Linked DNA regions of Homo sapiens: region 1 is linked to region 2. The links are contacts of gene promoters, found by promoter capture Hi-C in human tissues and cell types (Jung and others, 2019). All regions are on one chromosome and are shown on one strand. The core of a region is centred on a gene start or on the middle of the fragment in contact, and the rest is flanking DNA. Distances in the headings are between cores, read along the strand shown. Region 1 has its middle 240 kb from the start of SYT10. Region 2 holds the start of PKP2 (plakophilin 2).

Region 1 (3,244 bases), core at 47-2,546, 300 kb before region 2:
GCTCCACAAAGCCACCGTAGCCAGACTGCCCCTCTAGGTTCCTCCTCTCTGGGCAGGGCATCTCTGAAAGAAAGGCAGCAGCCCCAGTCAGGGGTTTATAGATAAAACTCCCATCTCCCTGGGACAGAGCACCTGGGGGAAGGGGCGGCTGTGGGCACAGCTTCAGTAGACTTACCTGTTCCTGCCTGGCAGCTCTGAAGACAGCAATGGGTCTCCAAAGCACAGCAATTGAGCTCTGCTAAGGGACAGACTGCCTCATCAAGTGGTTCCCTGACCCCCCTGCCTCCTGACTGGGAGACACCTCCCAGTAGGGGTTGACAGACACCGCATACAGGAGAGCTCCGGCTGGCATCTGGCAGGTGCCCCTTTGGGATGAAGCTTCCAGAGGAAGGAACAGGCAGCAATCTTTGCTGTTCTGCAGCCTCCACTGGTGATACACCCAGGCAAACAGGGACTGGAGTGAACCTCCAGCAAACTCCAGCAGACCTGCAGCAGAGGGGCCTGACTGTAAGAAGGAAATGTAATAAACAGAAATGAATAGCATTGTGTCCGGAATTGGTTCCTTCTGGTGGGTTCTTGGTCTCGCTGACTCCAAGAATGAAGCCGCGGACGCTTGCAGTGACTGTTACAGTTCTTAAAGATGATGTGTCCAGAGTTTGTTCCTTCAGATGTTCAGATGTGTCTGGAGTTTCTTCCTTCTGGTGGATTCGTGGTCTTGCTGACTTCAGGAGTGAAAGTGCAGACCTTTGCAGTGAGTGTTACAGCTCTTAAAGGTGGCGCATCTGGAGTTGTTCATTCCTCCCAGTGGGTTCATGGCCTCGCTGGCTTCAGGAGTGGAGCTGCAGACCTTCGCGGTAAGTGTTACAGTTCATAAAGATGGTGCGTCCGGAGTTGTTCGTTCCTCCTGGTGGGTTTGTGGTCTTGCTGGCTTCAGGAGTGAAGCTACAGACCTTCGCAGTGAGTGTTACAGCTCGTTGTTACAGCTTATAAAAGCGGCACGTCCGGAGTTGTTCATTCCTCCTGGTGGGTTCGTGGTCTCCCTGGCTTCAGGAGTGAAGCTGCAGACCTTTGCGGTGAGTGTTACAGCTCATAAAGGTAGTGAGGACCCAAAGAGTGAGCAACAGAAAGATTTATTGTGAAGAGTGAAAGAACAAAGCTCCCACAGCGTGGAAGGGGACCCAAGAAGGTTGCCGCTGCTGGCTCAGGTGGCCAGCTTTTATCCCCTTATTTGGCCCTGTCCATGTCCTGCTGATTGGTCCATTTTACAGAGTGCTGATTGGTCCATTTTTACAGAGTGCTGATTGGTGCATTTACAAACCTTTAGCTAGACACAGAGTGCTGATTGGTGCGTTTTTACAGAGTGCTGATTGGTGCGTTTACAAACCTTTAGCTAGACACAGAGTGCTGATTGGTGCGTTTTTACAGAGTGCTGATTGGTGCATTTACAAACTTTTAGCTAGACAGAAAAGTTCTCCAAGTCCCCACTCCACCCAGGAAGTCCAGATGGCTTCACCTCTCAGCATCAACATCAACAAAAAGGAGATCCACACATAAACCACATTCGAAGGTCACAAACATCAAAGACCAAAGATAGATAAATCCACAAAGATGAGGAAAACAAGTGCAAAAAGGCTGAAAATTTCAAAAACCAGAACACCTCTTCTCATTCAAAGGATTGCAACTCCTCACCAGAAAGGGAACAAAACTGTATGGAGAATGAGTTTGACGAATTGACAGAAGGAGGCTTAAGAAGGTGGGTAATAACAAACTCCTCTGAGCTAAAGGAGCGTATTCTAACCCAATGCAAGGAAGCTAATTACCTTGATAAAAGGTTACAGGAATTGCTAACTAAAATAACCAGTTTAGAGAAGAACATAAACGACCTGACGGAGCTGAAAAGAACAGCACAAGAACTTCGTGAAGCATGCACAAGTATCAATAGCCAAATCGATCAAGCAGAAGAAAGGATATCAGAGATTGAAGATCAACTTAAGGAAATTAAGCTTGAAGACAAGATTAGAGAAAAATGAATGAAAAGGAATAAACAAAGCCTCCAAGAAATATGGGACTATGTGAAAAGACCAAACCTACGTTTGATTGGTGTACTTGAAAGTGACGAGAAGAATGGAACCAAGTTGGAAAACACGCTTCAGGATATTATCCAGGAGAACTTCCCCAAACTAGCAAGACAGGCCAACATTCAAATTCAGGAAATTCAGAGAACACCACAAAGATAATCCTCGAGAAGAGCAACCCCAAGACACATAATCATCAGATTCATCAAGGGTGAAATGAAGGAAAATGTGTTAAGGGCAGCCAGAGAGAAAGGTCAGGTTTTCCATAAAGAGAAGATCATCAGACTAACAGCAGATCTCTCTGCAGAAACCCTACAAGGCAGAAAAGAGTGGGGGGCAATATTCAACATTATTTTTAAAAAGAATTTTCAACCCAGAATTCCATATCCAGACAAAGTAAGCTTCATATGCAAAGGAGAAATAAAATCCTTTACAGACAAGCAAATGTTAGAGATTTTGTCACCACCAGGCCTGCCTTACAAGAGCTCCTGAAGGAAGCACTAAATACAGAAAGAAAAACAGGTACCAGCCACTGCAAAAACATACCAAATTGTAAAGACCATCAACACTACAAAGAAACTACATCAACTAATGGGCAAAATAACCAGCTAGCATCATAATAAAAGGATCAAATTCACATATAACAATATTAACCTTAAATGTAAATGGGGTAAATGCCCCAATTAAAAGACACAGACTGGCAAATTAGATAAAGAGTCAAGACCTACTGGTGTGCTGTATTCAGGACCCATCTTACATGCAAAGACATGCATATAGGTTCAAAATAAAGGGAAGGAAAAATATTTACTAAGCAAATGGAAAGCAAGAAAAAGCAGGGCTTGCAATCCTAGTCTCTGATAAAACAGATTTTAAACCAACAAAGATCAAAAAAGATAAAGAAGAGCACTACATAATGGTAAAGGGATCAACATAACAAGAAGAGTTAACTATTCTAAATATATATGCACCCAATACAGGAGCATTCAGATTTAGAAAGCAAGTTCTTTGAGACCTACAAAGAGACTTAGACTCTCAAACAATAATAGTGGGAGACTTTAGCACCCCACTTTCAATATTAGACACATCAATGAGACAGAAAATAAACAGGATATTCAAGACTTGAACTCGGCTCCAGACCAAGTGGATCTAATAGACATTTACAGAACCCT
Region 2 (3,702 bases), core at 356-2,855:
TCAGTTCACCCCTCTCTTTTCAATTACATCTCAGCATCATGGTTGGATGTTTCCACCTGGCTACATAAGCAAGCTTTACACAAGGTGTAATTTGCCTAAATAGTGGTCCATTCTATTGGGGTGGGAGCAATTGCTTCCAGGACTCACATCCATATGGCTCCCACTTAGCCATGTGGCCTGCTGACAAAGGGTGGCGGAACTGTCACTACTCTGTTGTCCACGCTTTCAGTCCTTTGGTTTCCTCTTCACTCCCTGGACGCTCATGTAAAAAGGGAGGCCATATACCTGTGCATTGTGTGTCTAAGCATTCAGTGTGTGTCTAAAGGCAGAAGGGTGTGGGTAGGAAAACAAAGACGAGGGAAGCTGCGTTCTCCAAACACTTCAGACTTGAGTAAGTGGGGTTTTGCAGCAATTGAGTGATTTGAGGGAAAGTGAACATACAAACCCAAGCAATCAAAGGGAATATTATCTTAATACCAGGGATACATGTTTTTCTTTCTGCCTCTTAAGTCCAAAGAGGCAAATCAGGACAAGTGGCTTTGGTTGTAAACTTTAAGGTCAAGGATCCTTTCTGTTGAGCTTAGCTCTCAAGTTCTCAGTAGTCAACTGCGGTGAAACATAATTAATAGCACGATAAATACAAGTTGTGGAAGATTCGATTGAAAGTTGGAGGCCCTCTCCGTGGATCTCTCTACAAAGAGCCTGTAATAAAGAGGACTTAATCAACGTTAGCAGGGCTATTTAAAAAGCATCGTCTATTAAAATTCATTTCTTCTCTAGAGCCTCTTGTTGGAGTTTCTCTGTGTGGGTGTGTTCGTAAGAGAGGAATGGGTTAGCAAGAGTACTGGGTACAATTTGTGTATCCAAGAGAAAACAGAAGCTCTCAATGAGGAAGAACATATGTTTCTGGGACTGCATCTGTGCAAAAAGTACATAGTCCTGACGTTGTACTAAGAAAAAAAACACTCTCTTTAGAAAGTCTTTTATTTCACACGTTATCTTCTTGGCACATTTCCCTCATATTGCCCTTTCCGCCTGACCAAATAGCCCTTTCTCACCCTCAGGTCCAGGAAAACCAGGAAACGTTTCCAACAGTGCGACAAAGCCTGACTAACCAGACATACTACTCGCTCGGGGATCCCGGAGGCAAGCCTCAGTCCAAGAACAGGAGTGACTCTCGAGGGCTCACCTGCCTGCAGGGCAGCCCCTCCCTGCATCGAGCGGAAATCCATCCTGTCCAGCGCGGGGCGTGGGCAGAGCGGGGCGCGGCCCCGGCAGGCGGTATCCGCTGGGACTCCGACAACGTGCGCGACCCCAGGCGAACCGCGCCCCTCTCCCCACCTCCCCGCGGGCGGGTACAAGTCTCCAGGTGTCCGCGCGCTCAGCGGGTCCGGCCCGCCCCCGCCCCCGCCCCCGGGCCCGACTGCGCGTGCCCGGCCGGAGCCGCGCCCCCTCCTCAGGGAAGGCCGGGCGTCCGGCCCACGAGGCCGAGCTCCCCCCCGGCCCGGGCCTCTCACCGGCGCGGGGGGCGGGCCAGGGGCGGGGCCGGACTCGAGCGGGGCGGGGCTCGCGCCAGCGCCCCCAGCTCCGTGGCGGCTTCGCCCGCGAGTCCAGAGGCAGGCGAGCAGCTCGGTCGCCCCCACCGGCCCCATGGCAGCCCCCGGCGCCCCAGCTGAGTACGGCTACATCCGGACCGTCCTGGGCCAGCAGATCCTGGGACAACTGGACAGCTCCAGCCTGGCGCTGCCCTCCGAGGCCAAGCTGAAGCTGGCGGGGAGCAGCGGCCGCGGCGGCCAGACAGTCAAGAGCCTGCGGATCCAGGAGCAGGTGCAGCAGACCCTCGCCCGGAAGGGCCGCAGCTCCGTGGGCAACGGTGAGTGGAGCCCGCCGCTCCCCGGCGCCGCCCCCTGCCCCACACCCGGTCACCTCCTCCTATCCCGCCCTCACCCCGCGTGCTGGGAGTGCGGGACCCCGTGTTCTGCCCACCTGTTGCTCGCCGTCTTCGGTATGACCGACTTGCTTGTGGAAAGCACTCTTTTCCATAACCTATTACTCAGCTTTGTCATATAGGTACCTATGTATATTAAATATTGTACATATCTATCAATGTTAACTAACTCACTTCAAGATTTCACCCCTTTCTTTTTCTACTCCGCCGGTCCGCGCCCCTCACTGGTGCGGACTTAATTTGAAGGTTCAGGGAGTCTATAAACACCTTGAGATGCTATGCAGAATTTTTGGTGTGTACGATCTTTTTCTGGGAGAAGGAGCCCTTCAATTTTATTAGATTTGTTAAATAATTAATGACCCCCATAAATATCTTGGGGAAAAAAACCGACAGCACTGGCGCTCCTACAACCTATAAATTGGGATTGTGCTGTCTTATGCAAGTACTTCGGGGCGCTCCACCCTGTGTGGGAGGCGAGTGGTGGATCTAGGGAGTGAAGAAAAGTAGTTAGGAGGCTTTGGTCCAGGGAACAAACACGCCGAGGAGGAGGTAGGGGACTTTGGCCCTGCCGGCAACAGCCGTGCCCGCCTAGCTGCGCTTCCTACCCCCACCAGTGCGGGCGTGATGCAAGTCTGATCCCTCCAAAAAATTAAACCCGAAGGTGAAAGGGGTGTAAGCACACACATGCACACTATGTTCATGATTGATAGACGGGGGAGGTGGAAGGGAAAGAAGATGGCAAGCCACTTGTGAAAATTAGAGATCATGATGTATCCTTTTCTCCCCTGCTGAAGTCAGGTGATGGGATCAACTCAGTGACCCTTGTTTTACTTCTTGTTGCTGTGTATGTGAGTTTGCATTATAAAAGCACTATGTTGGCTTATAGCAAAAAGAAGAGGAAAGAAATTGAGCAATTAAGTTGGAATATCTGTTTCCTGCAACGTTCAGTTGTTTCTGTATGAAGTAACTTGGGCATTGGCGAATGTAGGCTAACCCATTCTAGTTTCTATTAGGAAAACAGAAAAATTCTAACAGGCCAGACCAGAGATTTCAAACAGCAGAGTCTGGGAGGCTGTACTGTGTGTGTAAAAGAATCCTAAAGGATGACGTAGTCAATATTAACATACTTGAAAGGTAAAGAGAAGATGTTCAATGATCGTAGTTAATATAACTGAGTGCATACTATGTGCCAAGAATTGGGCGATGTGGTTTGCATTCATTTGAGATATATATATATATATGTATTTAAAAACTTGTGAGTTAGGTATTTTCATCCTCATTTTACAGATGAGGAAACTAAGCAGTTAAGTAACACTGAAGCTCTAATAGATGGTAAGTGGCAGAGCTGGTATTTAAACTCCCAAACCTGAATTTTAAACTTATCAGTTTTATCATTAAGTTTTAAAATGATTAATACAAAGTGGGATTTGTTAGATGCTAAGCCTCTCCGTGGCCCCCTCCCATTTTTCTTTAAATAAAATTGAGGAAGTTCTGAAAGGCTGGGGAGGTCTAGAAAACACAGAACTGCTGCAATACATGGAGGGAAAGACCTTATATTTATTTAGACTTAGGGGTCTGACTAAAGACTGCGGGATGAGTGAGGCCAGTCTTTGAAAAGTGGAGCCATTACACCCATTCATTCTCTGTGCCCATAGGTCCAGTGCTAAACTGAAACCAAATCAGCTTCCCCTGCGTAGGAGACACAGGAGGCATATTAGATATTCTTTCTTATCCTCTGAGAATGGCCAGCTAGG

The links. Contacts are between HindIII fragments. The study calls those that stand out against the background at their distance.
Region 1: a contact is called between a fragment that was not itself captured here and the fragment with the promoter of PKP2 in region 2, in 2 of the 25 tissues and cell types used here (bladder and thymus).

The regions. Positions count from the first base shown.
Region 1 is chr12:33,197,360-33,200,603 of GRCh38, reverse strand. No RefSeq gene overlaps it. Among named protein-coding and RNA genes, the nearest start is that of SYT10, 240 kb to the left of the region's middle. The HindIII fragment of the contact is 4,237 bases long and covers 1-3,244 here.
Region 2 is chr12:32,894,680-32,898,381 of GRCh38, reverse strand. PKP2 (plakophilin 2) reads left to right here and starts at 1,605. Exons shown (of 13, transcript NM_001005242.3): 1 at 1,605-1,873. The coding sequence starts at 1,651. RefSeq lists silencers at 1,197-1,296, 1,497-1,606. The HindIII fragment of the contact is 8,511 bases long and covers 1-3,702 here.